Regions from separate parts of the Homo sapiens genome. Here region 1 is linked to region 2. The links are contacts of gene promoters, found by promoter capture Hi-C in blood cells and fetal thymus (Javierre and others, 2016). All regions are on one chromosome and are shown on one strand. Each heading gives the region's core, a stretch centred on a gene start or on the middle of the fragment in contact. The rest is flanking DNA. Distances are from core to core; before and after follow the strand shown. Region 1 holds the start of LINC01431 (long intergenic non-protein coding RNA 1431). Region 2 holds the start of SNRPB2 (small nuclear ribonucleoprotein polypeptide B2).

Region 1 (6,209 bases), core at 1,265-3,764, 6.6 Mb before region 2:
TCTTTGCAGTCTCTTAATGGATTGCCTGTGATGGGTATCACATTCTAGTTTAATGCTTATTCAATTACAAAGTGTTTTCTTTCTCCACTACCTTTCTGAAGAGGGTTGGGAGATTGTACTTTTAATTATATTTCCTGAACAGGAGCCAGCTTCCCACACATAGTAGGTGCTCAATAAATATTTGAAGAATGAATGAGTGACAGAAATCTTTCTTAGGCCGACTCTCTATATTTGCATTCCATGATTTGAAGAAATTGGAATGAACGCAGTTTTCACCCATGGCTCCAGCAGGCCCAGAATCGTGTTTTATGATTTTGTTTTGCATTACAAAAAGGTGGTCAGGCACGGTGGCTCACGCCTGTAATCCCAGCACTTTGGGAGGCCGAGGCGGGCCGATCACTTGAGGTCAGGAGTTGAAGACCAGCCTGGCCAACATGGTGAAACCCCGTCTCTGCTAAAATACAAAAATTAGGCCAGGTGCGGTGGCTCACACCTGTAATTCTAGCACTTTGGGAGGCTGAAGTGGGCGGATCACCTGAGGTCAGGAGTTCAAGACCAGCCTGGACAACATGGTGAAACCCTTTCCCTGCTAATAATACAAAAATTAGCTGGGCGAGGTGGTACATGCCTTTAATCCCAGCTATTCAGGAGACTGAGGCAGGAGAATCGCTTGAACATGGGAGGCAGAGGTTGCAGTGAGCGGAGATTGCACCACTGCATTCCAGCCTGGGCAACAGAGGAAAACTCTGTCTCAAAAAAACAAAACCAAATTAGCCGGGAGTGGTGACAGGCACTTGTAATCCCAGATGCTCAGGAGGCTGAGGCAGGAGAATCACTTGAACCCAGGAGATGGAGGTTGCAGTGAGCTTCGATCATGCCATTGCACTCCAGCCTGGGCAATAGAATGAGACTCCGTCTCCGATTATGTTAGCTAGCATAACATAATGCTAGCTTATCCATTCAATACTGAAAGGATTGCTTTAGTTGAGTGTCTTAATAGCTTTAAAAATAGAGGTCATAAGACTCACAGACTCTTTGTGGCAATACTAAATGATAAAGAATGAAGGGCCATGCCTGGCAAGGGTTGTCATGCACCTCTACACTTCAAGAAGAAACTATGCCTTAACTGCCACAAGGTTTTTATTCTCTGGCAGCCAAACAAGCACTGGCCTCTAGATAAGCAATATTCAAACAATGTGCTTTTCATCCACCTCCACATGCTGACTGACACGCCCCCTGCCCCAGCCCCACCACTTCCACAAATAATTACTGCTTTGATTGGACCAGAGACTGACTGCAGTAACTTTTTCCTGATGGGAAACAACCGAACAGGGGCTGATTCTGGCGGTTTACAGAGGCTGCACACAAGTGCATCGGTGTCCTGAAAAGATCTTTCAACTTATAGGGTCTAAATGTAATACATGAATACCTGTAAATGCTAAGAGTCCACCCCAAAGTAAACATAGGTCACCTGTAACATGCACGTTTGTCCAGTAAGCATGGGTCAGGACCCGTTTCATGAATATTCATAGCTCTTCCTGTGGCCTGTTCATATGTGTACTTGGCTAAGTCCTTCAGCTTAAATTCCTGTCTTAGGCCCCCTTCCCTCCAGCTGCCTGCCTTTTGAGCTTCTGCCAGAAGCTATGCTTCCCAGCCTGTCAGAAGGGCCACCTTGCAGGTTATCACCGTTTAAAGAAATAAAGCTCTCCTTTCTATGTTTGTGATCTTTTTTTTAAATAATACAAATAGACAATTCACTTGACAGTGTGAATGGCATACTTCACTGACAATGGAATACTATAAAAACAATAATAAACCACTGATAAACATCAACCTGACAAAGTTAAATATAGTGTTTCATGCTGTAGAACTCTGCACGAGAAAAGTACACGGGAGTGAACAATTGTTACGTAAGGGCGTTCACTGCAGTGCACTTACATTAGTGAAACTTTGGAAACAATCTCACCTATAAGGAGATGGCCGAAGAATTTGATATATCCAAGCACTGGATTATTATGCCGGTCATTAAAACAATGTTTAAAAATATGTGTAATAGCTTGGGGAAATGCTCACCATGTTATAATGAGTAAAGACGGTACACTATTTTACATAGGGTCTGATGTGATTTGAAAACAAATCTATAGAAATAGACTGGAAAGAAATGTATCAAATTCTAAACTGCACAAGGAAGAACACTGACGCACGCGCAACGCCGGCGCCCTGCCCACTAGGCGCCCTCGCTGCCCCTCACCTGCACAGCCGGCGCACGCCCACAGGCTCGTGAGGGAGCGGCCGGTGGGTCAGGCTGGGCGGCACTCCTCGCCCATTGGCTGTCCCGGAGTCCGGCCCCGCCTCTCCCCGCCTTCTGGAGCCGCTGGTATAGCTCCTTCCAGGGCTCCTTGGAGACGGAGGGCGGGGCTAGGGCGCCGGAGTCACGTGGTCGCGCCACCGCGCGATTACTAGCTGTCAAAAGAGTCCTCAGAAGTGTCCTGAGCGGTCGCAGGGTAATGACGTCGGCCGTATCGGGGATGCTGGAACCTGCGGTTGAGTGAGAAACCGGCGCCACCGCCTGCGTCTTGGTCTCGGGCTGGTGGCCAGCGGGGTCTGGGCGTGGTTTTACCCAGCTCCTTTGCGAAGCTGCTGTCCTTTCCTCAACGTTACCACCCGGCTGGGCAGCCTACCCTCGGTCAGTACGTCCTGGCAAGAGCGCTTCGGGCGTGGCGTTCGTGTCGCGGGGGCCTCGGCTCAGAAGCGAGGGAAGAGCAGCCCTCAGAGGAGCGGCGACCGCGCTTACCGGGAGCCCGGGTTGGGAGAGGGCTCCCCAGGAGGGGTGTGAGCTCCGAACGAGAAAGAACGCCACCGCCTCGTGGGGTCTCTTCCTAATGTGCAGATTCCAAATCTCTACAATGCTGCAAAAGAGGTTACAGTCCACATCAAATTAAGCATGCCCTAAAGGGCAGCTGGGGTTCAGTTCAAGAGTTGAGTTTTAACACACACCTTTACCTGCCTTAAAATTGGGCAAGGTATCACAACGTTAAACCATTTCTCACAAGGCTCGTTGGTGATGTTTAAGATTTTTTGTTTGTTTGTTTGTTTTTTGTTACGGAGTCTCGCTCTGTCGCCCAGACTGGAATGCAGTGGCGCGATCTTGGCTGACTACAACCTCCGCCTCCTGGGTTCAAGCGATTGTCCTGCCTCAGCTTCCTGAGTAGCTGGGATTACAGGCGCCTGCCACCACGCCCAGCTAATTTTTCTATTTTTAGTAGAAACGGGGTTTCGCCTTGTTGGCCAGGCTGGTCTTAAGTTTTGCATCCTGGCTCCCTCCTCTTACCTAGTCCCAGCCTCTTGTCTACAGGACAAAGCAACTTTCTGCAGTTTTCTGTTTGCTCTTTAGAGAGACGGGGCCCTAATTTGGCAAAGTGGTAGGGGAGACAGGGCTGGTGTTTAAGGTCGACCAAAGCAACATCTAAATCTCTGCTCTTCCCCCAAATTGTCCAAATTAGCAGCAACAGGTGTGCACCTTCCAAGCTTGCAACAGACCACATTCAGAAGCTTGATTTCTTGTTGTTCTGGGAATATCTGGATCAGAGGTAACATGGTTCACTAGGACTCCTCAGCTTCACCCAGTGTCCATTTCACCTCCCCCGGCCTTCCAATGTCTCTTCTTGCAGATTTCTCCAAGCCACTCTCCCCGTCATCTCCTCCACCCCCAGGACCCAACTCCTGCCCCTCCCACCCTAGCCCCTGTTCTCCCTGCCCACCTCCTACCCCACTGGAGTGGCCTTTCATCAAACCTAAACCAAAGAAACCAACAGACCTTGCTGTCACCACTACTCCGGGACCTGGAAGTTAAAGCGAGGGAGAGACGGTGAAACACAGAAAGCAGAACGCCTTCTGTTCTTCCACAACACAGGGTTTGTGGACGTGGCCACTATAAGAACTCGCACTGCGTGCTGATTATACTCCTCAGCACAATTCATTTCTTAAACTTTTTAGAATAATTTAAAATTTACAAAAAGTTGCAAAAATAAAAACCAGTAAACTTTTCACCTTCATCTGCCTTATAATTAAGGCAGCGGGCAGCGCGCTGGACAGAACGGGAGGGGCTTGCGCTTTCCGCCGGTGGGAAACCCCACCCGCAGGGACGAGCCGGGACCATCTGGCCCTACCTGCCGAACGGCCGCTTGGTGGAGATGTGTCCCAGAACCGAAGGAGGAGGGTGCCACGCACATTTGTCTTGCCTTCCCCGGTGGCGGGGGCATGGCAAGGGCGGAGCTTCCCGCTGTGCCCTTGGAGGCCGCCTGCAACCAGGCTAGTGTAGGTGGGGACGCACGCCCTGTACCCTACCCATCCTGCCCATTGCGGGTCTGGCCCGGACCTGAAGGGCAGTAGTTGGGGCCGTCCCCGCGTCTTCTGGGCCCTGTAGTGAATACAGTCTGCCCCATTCAAATCCTTTTCCTCACTTAGGATTACTGCTGTGTGTCAGTGTCACACACCCCAAATTGATAATGGCTTAAGATGGGATTTCTCATTTAAAAAGAAGTCTTTGGTTGAGTGAGCTGGGGCTATTTTGGTGTTTCCACATGGGACCTAGGCTCCTTTTAGCTCAGCACTATCCTACGTCTAGGGTATGGCTGAGCTGTTCTCTTGGCCAAGACTGAGCCAGAGCCCGTGGTCAGGTCAGCATAACCTTTCCAGGCAGCAGGATAGAGTGGGAAAGAAAGAAGGGTCTGTTGAAGGAAAATTCCCCCAAGTTCAGTCCTACTTCATTGGCCAGAACTTAATCACATGTCAGACCTAGCTACAAATTGAATGAGAAAGTCAAGTATTTAAGGTGGGTCCCTTATCTCTCAAAACACTGGGCTTCAGATAATAGAGAAGGGAAGGGGTGTCAAGAGGAAACGGCTACCTGTGTCACTGTGCTTATCAGGATTCTTACCCTTCTCAAAATTTCCCATTGCAGTATCTTGACTACCCTATCCCAAACCTAGCACACTTTTACCAAAGACAACTTAACTGGGGAAGCTGCAGCATGGCAGGCACATCATCTATTGGTCCAACTTCTATAGGGTTTTCTATTCTTTACATTGAAGAAATGCAATTGGGTTTGGCCTTTAGGATCAGTAACAGCAGCTTCTGGTTCTGATGTCCTCCATCCTAGTTTCAGTGCTTCTTCCTCTCAGAATCAGTGCTGATTCACTTTCTCTTTATCAATGAGTTTAATATAGTGGCTTCATTTATAAGCAATTAGCTAACTCTAGTATTTCATCTGTTCTCATCATTTAATTCTCAGCTAAGGTGCTAAGGTAGGGCCCAGCCATCTGTTAGGTGATTCTGCTATATCCTAAGGTGATGTATCCTAAAAGACACCTAGGGTGCTTTTAGAAACTGCCCATGCCCAGCCGTATCCTCAAAGATTCAGGCAAACAATTAGCCGGGTGTGGTGGCATGTGCCTGCAATCCCAGCTACTCAGGAGGCTTAGGCACGAGAATTGTTAGAACCCGGGAGATGGAGGTTGCAGTGAGCCAAGATTATGCCACTGCACTCCAGCCTGGAACAAAACCAACCCCCCTACCCACCACCACACACACACACACACACACACACACACACACACACACACACACACACTCAAGCATGGTTGGGTCTGGAGTATGGCCTTGGCATAGGTAATTTTCAGTGTCCCAAGGGATTCTAGTGTGCATGGGGCTGTGAATCACAGCTCCAGGTGGGCCAACTATGTGCACACTGGTGCCTGGGGTAGGTACTAAGCCCTGATCCTCACCCCTGTGCGGGTGCTTCCTATTATGCTTTCTGCCTTTAGCCCTCCTCCTCCCTCACAACCTGGTCAAACACATCAGACAGGGAAAGAAGCAACATGTGTATTATTAAATTATTTGTCAGAATTTCCAGAATCAGAGTCTCTACTGGGCAAGTAGAAAAATAGAAAAGTTTACTACTTTGAAAAGGAAACTATGACAAACAAGTATATATTCAGGAAAGGGACTCCTAGAACTTGAGCAACAAAAAAGAGTTCAACCTCGGCACAGTGGAGTCTGCAGTGTCTCCGCAACAACAGAAATGAACTTGTGTTCCTCACATCCTTGAGAGTCGAGGTTTGCATTTCTCTACAGAGCTAGGGCTGAATGAAGCAAAGAGACCTCTGCCACCCCCACTAGCTGGCCCAGTCCTGGAAGCGGAAGCAGTC
Region 2 (6,219 bases), core at 3,659-6,158:
AGGGTTCCCTCACAACTCCCTTGGCTCTGCAACCTCGTGCCTGACCTGAATAGATCTTCGGTGACCTGATTTGTCTGTCCTTATGACCTAGTCACCTGTGAAAACACCTGATCTCAGCAATAGCTCTTAGCTGGCTCATTTAAACCAGTGGTTCTCAACCAGAGGTGATTTTGTCTGTCAGAGCACAGCTAGCACTAGCTGGAGACATTACTCGTTGTTATGCTACTGGCATCCTGTGGGTAGAGGCCAGGGATGCTGTTAAACACGGGGTAATGAACAAGACAGCCCCCTGCAACAAAGACTCACTCATTTCAAAATGTCCAAAGTGACAGGGTTGAGAAACGCTAGTCTAGGCTAAATACCTATTAGAGATAAAAGTCTAACCACAACTTAGAGAAGGGCAAGATTTACACTTATGCCAAAGTTTTCATGACGAAGCCCTTAGGAAGACAGTTCTACTTTATTAAGGTACTTTTGGCATTAACTAAATGCCCTTGAATCAGAGAGAGTAATTCTGTTCTGAGTTCCAAGTTATAGCAAATTTTGTTCATTTCTGATCGGTATGTTGGAGTTAAAACAGAAGAGCAACTACAACCACAGTAAGACATAAACAAGACAGCCCAAAGAACTCTATTTCCCCTCTTCTAAGATGGAGATTTGGCAGTATCTGTTACCTTTCTGTAGGAAAAGAATAGACCTCCCAAAATGCTTCAATATAATAATCAATCTAATACACTTTCCCACTAATTTTAAAAAATAATTAGTTGGCAAGGTGAGGCTGGTGCCCAACACAGCAAACAATTTCCTTTCCTGTATCTGAGTAACAGACACATGCAAACTTGTCATCTCAACTCAGCAAAATAGCTCTAAACCCTCTATGGGAAGAAACTGTACTTTCAAGTTAATATAATTTTAGATGTAAGCTAAAACCCAGGCCCTATGCTGCTGCCAACTGAGATCTCAATTATGGTGTTTCTTTATACTACTATGAGAGACCGCCTGGTTTCAGGAAACACCAATATACTAAAAATTACATTACATAGGTACCATCCCACAGTTTCCTGGGATAGGCTTTTCCACAAAAATGGTGTCCAGTCAGCTGGGAAGTGATGGGAAAAGGAGAGCTGGATAGAGGATGAGAAGAACTTGCTCTAATAACAGAAAAAAAGGTGCTGAGGCTTGAATTAAGCATCATGGTATAAAACAGGGGTCCTCAAACTACTGTCTGTAGCCAACACTGCCTGTTCTCATCTGGGACTGCTCTTCCTGCTATAAAAGCAGAGTTGAGTAGTAGTTGCAACACAGATTATCTGGCTTGCAAAGTGTAACATATTTACTATCTGGTCCTTTACGGAAAGTTTGCTGACCTGTAATGCAGAAAAAAAATCACAATACTAGCTGTTAGATTAGTTGTCAACTCCTGAGGCTGCCACTGGTTATATTACTATAACCTAGATGAACAATTAAACTTTCTATGCCTGTTTCTTCATCTGCAAAATGAATGGGTTAGATCAGCGGTCTGTACCACAGTCTGTGAGCCAAACCCTGCCCACAGGCCTGCATTAGCATGGCCTACATGAATTTTCTTAGATAATGTTAAAGGGTTGTTAAAAAACGTAAGTACATAAAAGAACAGGTAACAGAAACCATATATGGCTTACAAAGCCTAAGGTATTATGTACTTCTTTACAGTTTTTGCTGATGCCTGCATTAGACCAAAGAACAACCAATTTGTTTACCGGAGGTGGTAAAACTAACCACGGGCACAGAGCCAGTTAATAGTACAACCAGAATGAAGACCCAGCTCCTCTAAACCCTGGCCCTTGGCTCTCTGTCCAACACTCCTTCACATCACATTCTAATCGCAGAAAAAAAGCAGTTTGGAATCCACACCTAAGATATGGTGTATTCACTCATACATAGAAACCCCTTGCTTCACACTCTGTGGTCACCCTTATCTGATCCTCTACCATCTCTGACTTACATCAAGGGCCTCCTAATTGAGTTTCCCACTTCCTTTCTGTCCCTCCCACAATGCGACCTTCATCCAGCAGCTAGATGTGAATCTCATTATGTCATTCCTGAGTTTAAAACTCTCCATTCATAACCATTTCATTTCCATTGTTATTCCTAAAACCTATGAGTTTAAACCTATCATTTTTCCTTAGATCACTGTTTCATCTAGACTGTGCAGCTTCTGACACATAGTATTTCACTACGACATATTCTAAAACTTCAGACTGAATTTCCTCTTTGACTCATGACTTTTGTTTCGTAATGTTTTACAAGTTTACAAACAGGTTTCTTTTCAAGTCTTCCAGGATATTATTAATTTCTAACTTTTTGAGATAAGACTATTGCCTAGACTGCCATTATTTTTTAAAATATTCTACATCTCAATGTATTTTGTTTTTGCCCATCTGAACTGTCATAAATTAAACTCTACCACTACTGTTTTTCTATAAAAATACATAAACCCAAACACACATAATTAAAAGCAGAAAGCAATAGCCACAGTTTCAAGCATATTTACAAATCTACTGTCCCATCAATATCATTAATTTCTTGATTAAAGTGAAATAATGGAATTGGCTTACCATTGGTTTACCATAAAATGGAAATCCTTGTAGCTGTCTCAAGGCATTTGTGGATGAGCCCAGTTCCTTAAATATGACAAAGGCCTGCCCCCTCATCTTCATGGTCTTTAAAGCCACAATGTCCACCACATGACCAAACTGAGAAAACAGGGCATATAGGGATCTCTTCAATTCTGTCCAAATTAGAAAAGAAACAAGTTATTGGTAATAAAGTAATGACAAAAGTCTTCATAAAATGATACTGCATTGAGTTGCCCCCCCCACCATTCACTTATTTATACAGTTATATATTTTAATATTTATAAAAACATATACTATTCCCATTGGCTATATGTAATTTTAAAAGTTATATGAAACCATTATATCTATGAGTAGAAACAGACTGTACACACTGTCAGTTCCTACCTATTTTTGTTTTTTAAAAGCCTTCAAATCCCTATAGGAAATGGGATAAACCATTATTTCAGGCACTAAGATGATGAGGTAAGAGGTTTTGAGGCAGTACAATTTTTAAGACAGTAGTAAATAAACACATTTTAGTAGTGAACAAGTATTCTAAAAAGCACTTACCTTCCTTTTTAATTTTGTCATTCATATTGTTGATATAAATTGTATGATTTGGTCTGATATCCATGTTTGTGTTAAATTCTTCAGGAGACAGTAAAAAATCTGTTATAAAAAGGAAGGAGTAAATTATACTGGACTGTGGCATAAGGACACAACACAAGAATTATTAACTTTTCATTTCTCTTTCAATCCCAGTTGTCAGAAAATGTCAGTTTGGCTGTAGCCTTTATTGTATCTCCAGCACCTACTAGCCCTCCTTTTCATACAGAAGAAGAACAGTTTCTCACATTCAAAACTTGGAGCACCAATACCTAGCCAGATTTTAGTAACACCATTTAATTCAACACATTTATTTTTACACTTACGTTTCACTTATGACACGTGACATTTTCTTTCCACCTCCTCAATGAAATAATTTTAAAATGTAGATTTGAAGAAAAATGACCAAAGTAGCAAATGTACATCCAGTAAAAATCATAAGGTTAGACATTAATGAAGTTTGCCAACTACTTAATGGGTGCACTTACAAAGTCCTTCCATACCTATTAATTTGTATACAGCATCACCAAGCTGTCTGGACTCCAAGGTTATCTCTAACCGACTTGAAAGAAAGGAGCTCAATGACAGCAGTGTGGCATGACGATTAAACTCAGATTCCAGTATCAGCCAGATGTGAATTCAAATCCTATTTATGCTTCTTACTAGCTGTTTGCCTGAGGGAAGTTCCTTAACCTCTCAGGTCCTCATCAGTAAAATAAGAATGGTAACAGAACCTACCCAATAGAACTCAGAAGACTAAATGAATTCTAGCACAGTTCTGCATCAGCGGTAAACACTTAAGAGTAGCTATTATTAACAGCTATTACCAGGTAAGGAACTTGCCTAAGGTCACACAGCTAATAAGCATCAGGCCTGGAAATTCAGCCCTTGCTTTCTCCTCTACACTTGTCTTCCTCATATACCACACTATTGCATTTTTTACATGGTTTTTACTTGCAAATTGTGAACTTGGATGATTTCCTTGTGTGCCCCACATATTCCTTTATCTCACAGTATTTACAGAGCATCCACTGTATGTGAACTGCATTGGATGATTGACAAGGGAAGAGCCTACAAGCAGGGGCTGCACTTGTGCAGGTAACAGGTAAAACGTAACGCTTCTCAAAGCCTTGCGACCCCCTAAATCGAAATCTGGAGAAGGGGCAGGGGTCGCAAAGGAGACGACGAAAGGGAAGTGACTGAGGCAGAGGTCAAAGTGAAGGTAGGGGGACAAAGGGGAGGCTCTTGCAGGGTTTCATGCGAGGTTTGATCGTGGGCTGCGTTGTTACAGGGACACCCTGAATTACCCGCCACCACCAAAAGGGAGCCGCTGGAAGACACCTGAAAGCGCAGTGAACTGTCCACGCCTCGCACGAGCAGACTGACATTAACTATCCTTTACTTCGTACGCGCAAGCCTCCCGCCTCTCCAGACACAAGCACCTTCGCCCAAGGCCCCCTAACGAAGTCCAAGGGAGCTGCCACGCGATGCCCGGCCCCAGAGTCAGTCTCCTCACCCCCAAGCCTGCCCCTCCGAGATCCAAACCCGGGCCAAACGCGTACCCACCCCAGCTTCGCGCTTCGTCCGCTCCCAGCTGCAACAGGGGAGAAAAGGGCCGAGGAGCCAGGAAAACCGAAACAGCGAGGTAGAAGGCGCACGAACCCACCTAAGGCCTACGCCGACTACTGTAAGAACCAAAAGCAGGAAACGGAGCCAGGCACCGGAAGCAACGTAGCCACGCTCCTCAATCGAGCGCCGACAAGTCTAGAAGCCGAGCACAGAGCCGATCGATGCTTCCGGGTCTCTGGCAGCCAGGGCTGGCAATCTCTCTGCGCGTGCGTCTGCCCTGCGGGCAGGAGAAGAGTCCGGAAATGGAAATGGGGAAAGAGAAGGGGGTTGTGAGGACCATGCTGCGAGGGAATAGTGAAGGGGAGTGAATCATTTCCCCTACCACGACCTTGCGAAGCTTTACCCGGCGCAACAGTGCCTTCCACCTTTACAAATCCTATGTAATTTTACAGGCGCTGCCCCTCATGCTATGGGGCAGTTAGTCCTGGTTTCGCCCTTCTTTGGGCTCTAGCTACCCCGGTTTAAAATCACCTTTAGGATAGCCAGTTCCTCCTGCCTCCGAGTCTCCTCTGATTCATGGGGCTCTGCAGGAACTGTCCTCCAACACTGTGCTGATGAACTTGAATCTCAGAGGCTACTCAGTTTGAGGGCCCAGGGCAGACAGAACTGGTGTCTGCCCAATTCTCATCTCTCACCAGATAAGGCAACCATGCTGACTAGAACCCAGTCATCTGTAAGATCATCTGCCTCAATTCACTCGAAAAAATAATTCCCTACCACCCTTCCCACTCTTTTCTTCCAACAAAAGGTCTAGATTTTTCTAGGGTATTCTAAGGAGTTAGTATTTATGCCAAGCTGAATGGGAGTTCCCAAAGTGCATGCATTCATTCATCCATCCATTCATCAGATGTCTGTAAAGCATCACCTGGAATATGAAATGGTTGTTAAGAGTCAACTGGAACCTAATCTTGTACCCTCTGCTTAACTAATCTCTCTGACCTTCACTTTTTTCATCTGTAAAATAGGGATCCTAATAGTACCTCCTTCTAGTTGTTGTAAGCATTAAATGAGCTAAAATAAATGTAAAGTGATTGGCACATTGTCAGACACAATAAATGCTCAAAAATGTTATTTCTGAATTCTGGCTATAACTTGGTTCTACTGGTGAGGCAGGTAGCTGTCAAATAAGTTGGTTTTATCAGCTGGGAATTTTTATTTTTTAAAAACACCCAAAGTTGCAACAACTTGAAAATAATATAAGCTTTTTAAGGGTGGGGTTTTTGTCTGCTCTGTTCACTCAAGTACCCTTAGTAATGGGAAAAGTGACTGATAATTAATATGCATTGGATAATTCAATGAATGACATGGAAAACTAGGCAACAGTAAAACAAATATGCTTTGAACATGCACCTGAGTGTAGAGAATGTTAAGGGATCACAGAAAAGCA

Evidence for each region. Contacts are between HindIII fragments. The CHiCAGO score rates a contact against its expected background, and 5 or more counts as called.
Region 1: a contact is called between the fragment with the promoter of LINC01431 here and the fragment with the promoter of SNRPB2 in region 2, in 4 of 17 cell types (non-activated CD4 T cells, naive CD4 T cells, activated CD4 T cells and 1 more). The highest score is 19.3, in non-activated CD4 T cells.

The regions. Positions count from the first base shown.
Region 1 is chr20:23,354,432-23,360,640 of GRCh38, reverse strand. LINC01431 (long intergenic non-protein coding RNA 1431) reads left to right here and starts at 2,514. Exons shown (of 3, transcript NR_109884.1): 1 at 2,514-2,686; 2 at 3,504-3,590; 3 at 3,672-4,047. It overlaps NXT1 (nuclear transport factor 2 like export factor 1), which reads right to left. Exons shown (of 2, transcript NM_013248.3): 2 at 5,870-6,209. The coding sequence ends at 6,177. RefSeq lists a silencer at 2,179-2,368 and enhancers at 2,419-2,808, 2,999-3,088. The HindIII fragment of the contact is 4,137 bases long and covers 1-3,530 here.
Region 2 is chr20:16,728,715-16,734,933 of GRCh38, reverse strand. SNRPB2 (small nuclear ribonucleoprotein polypeptide B2) reads right to left here and starts at 4,908. Exons shown (of 7, transcript NM_003092.5): 1 at 4,770-4,908; 2 at 3,168-3,266; 3 at 2,598-2,770. The coding sequence starts at 3,231. RefSeq lists a silencer at 4,451-4,500 and enhancers at 4,651-4,770, 4,821-4,870, 4,929-5,797. The HindIII fragment of the contact is 9,448 bases long and covers 1-5,171 here.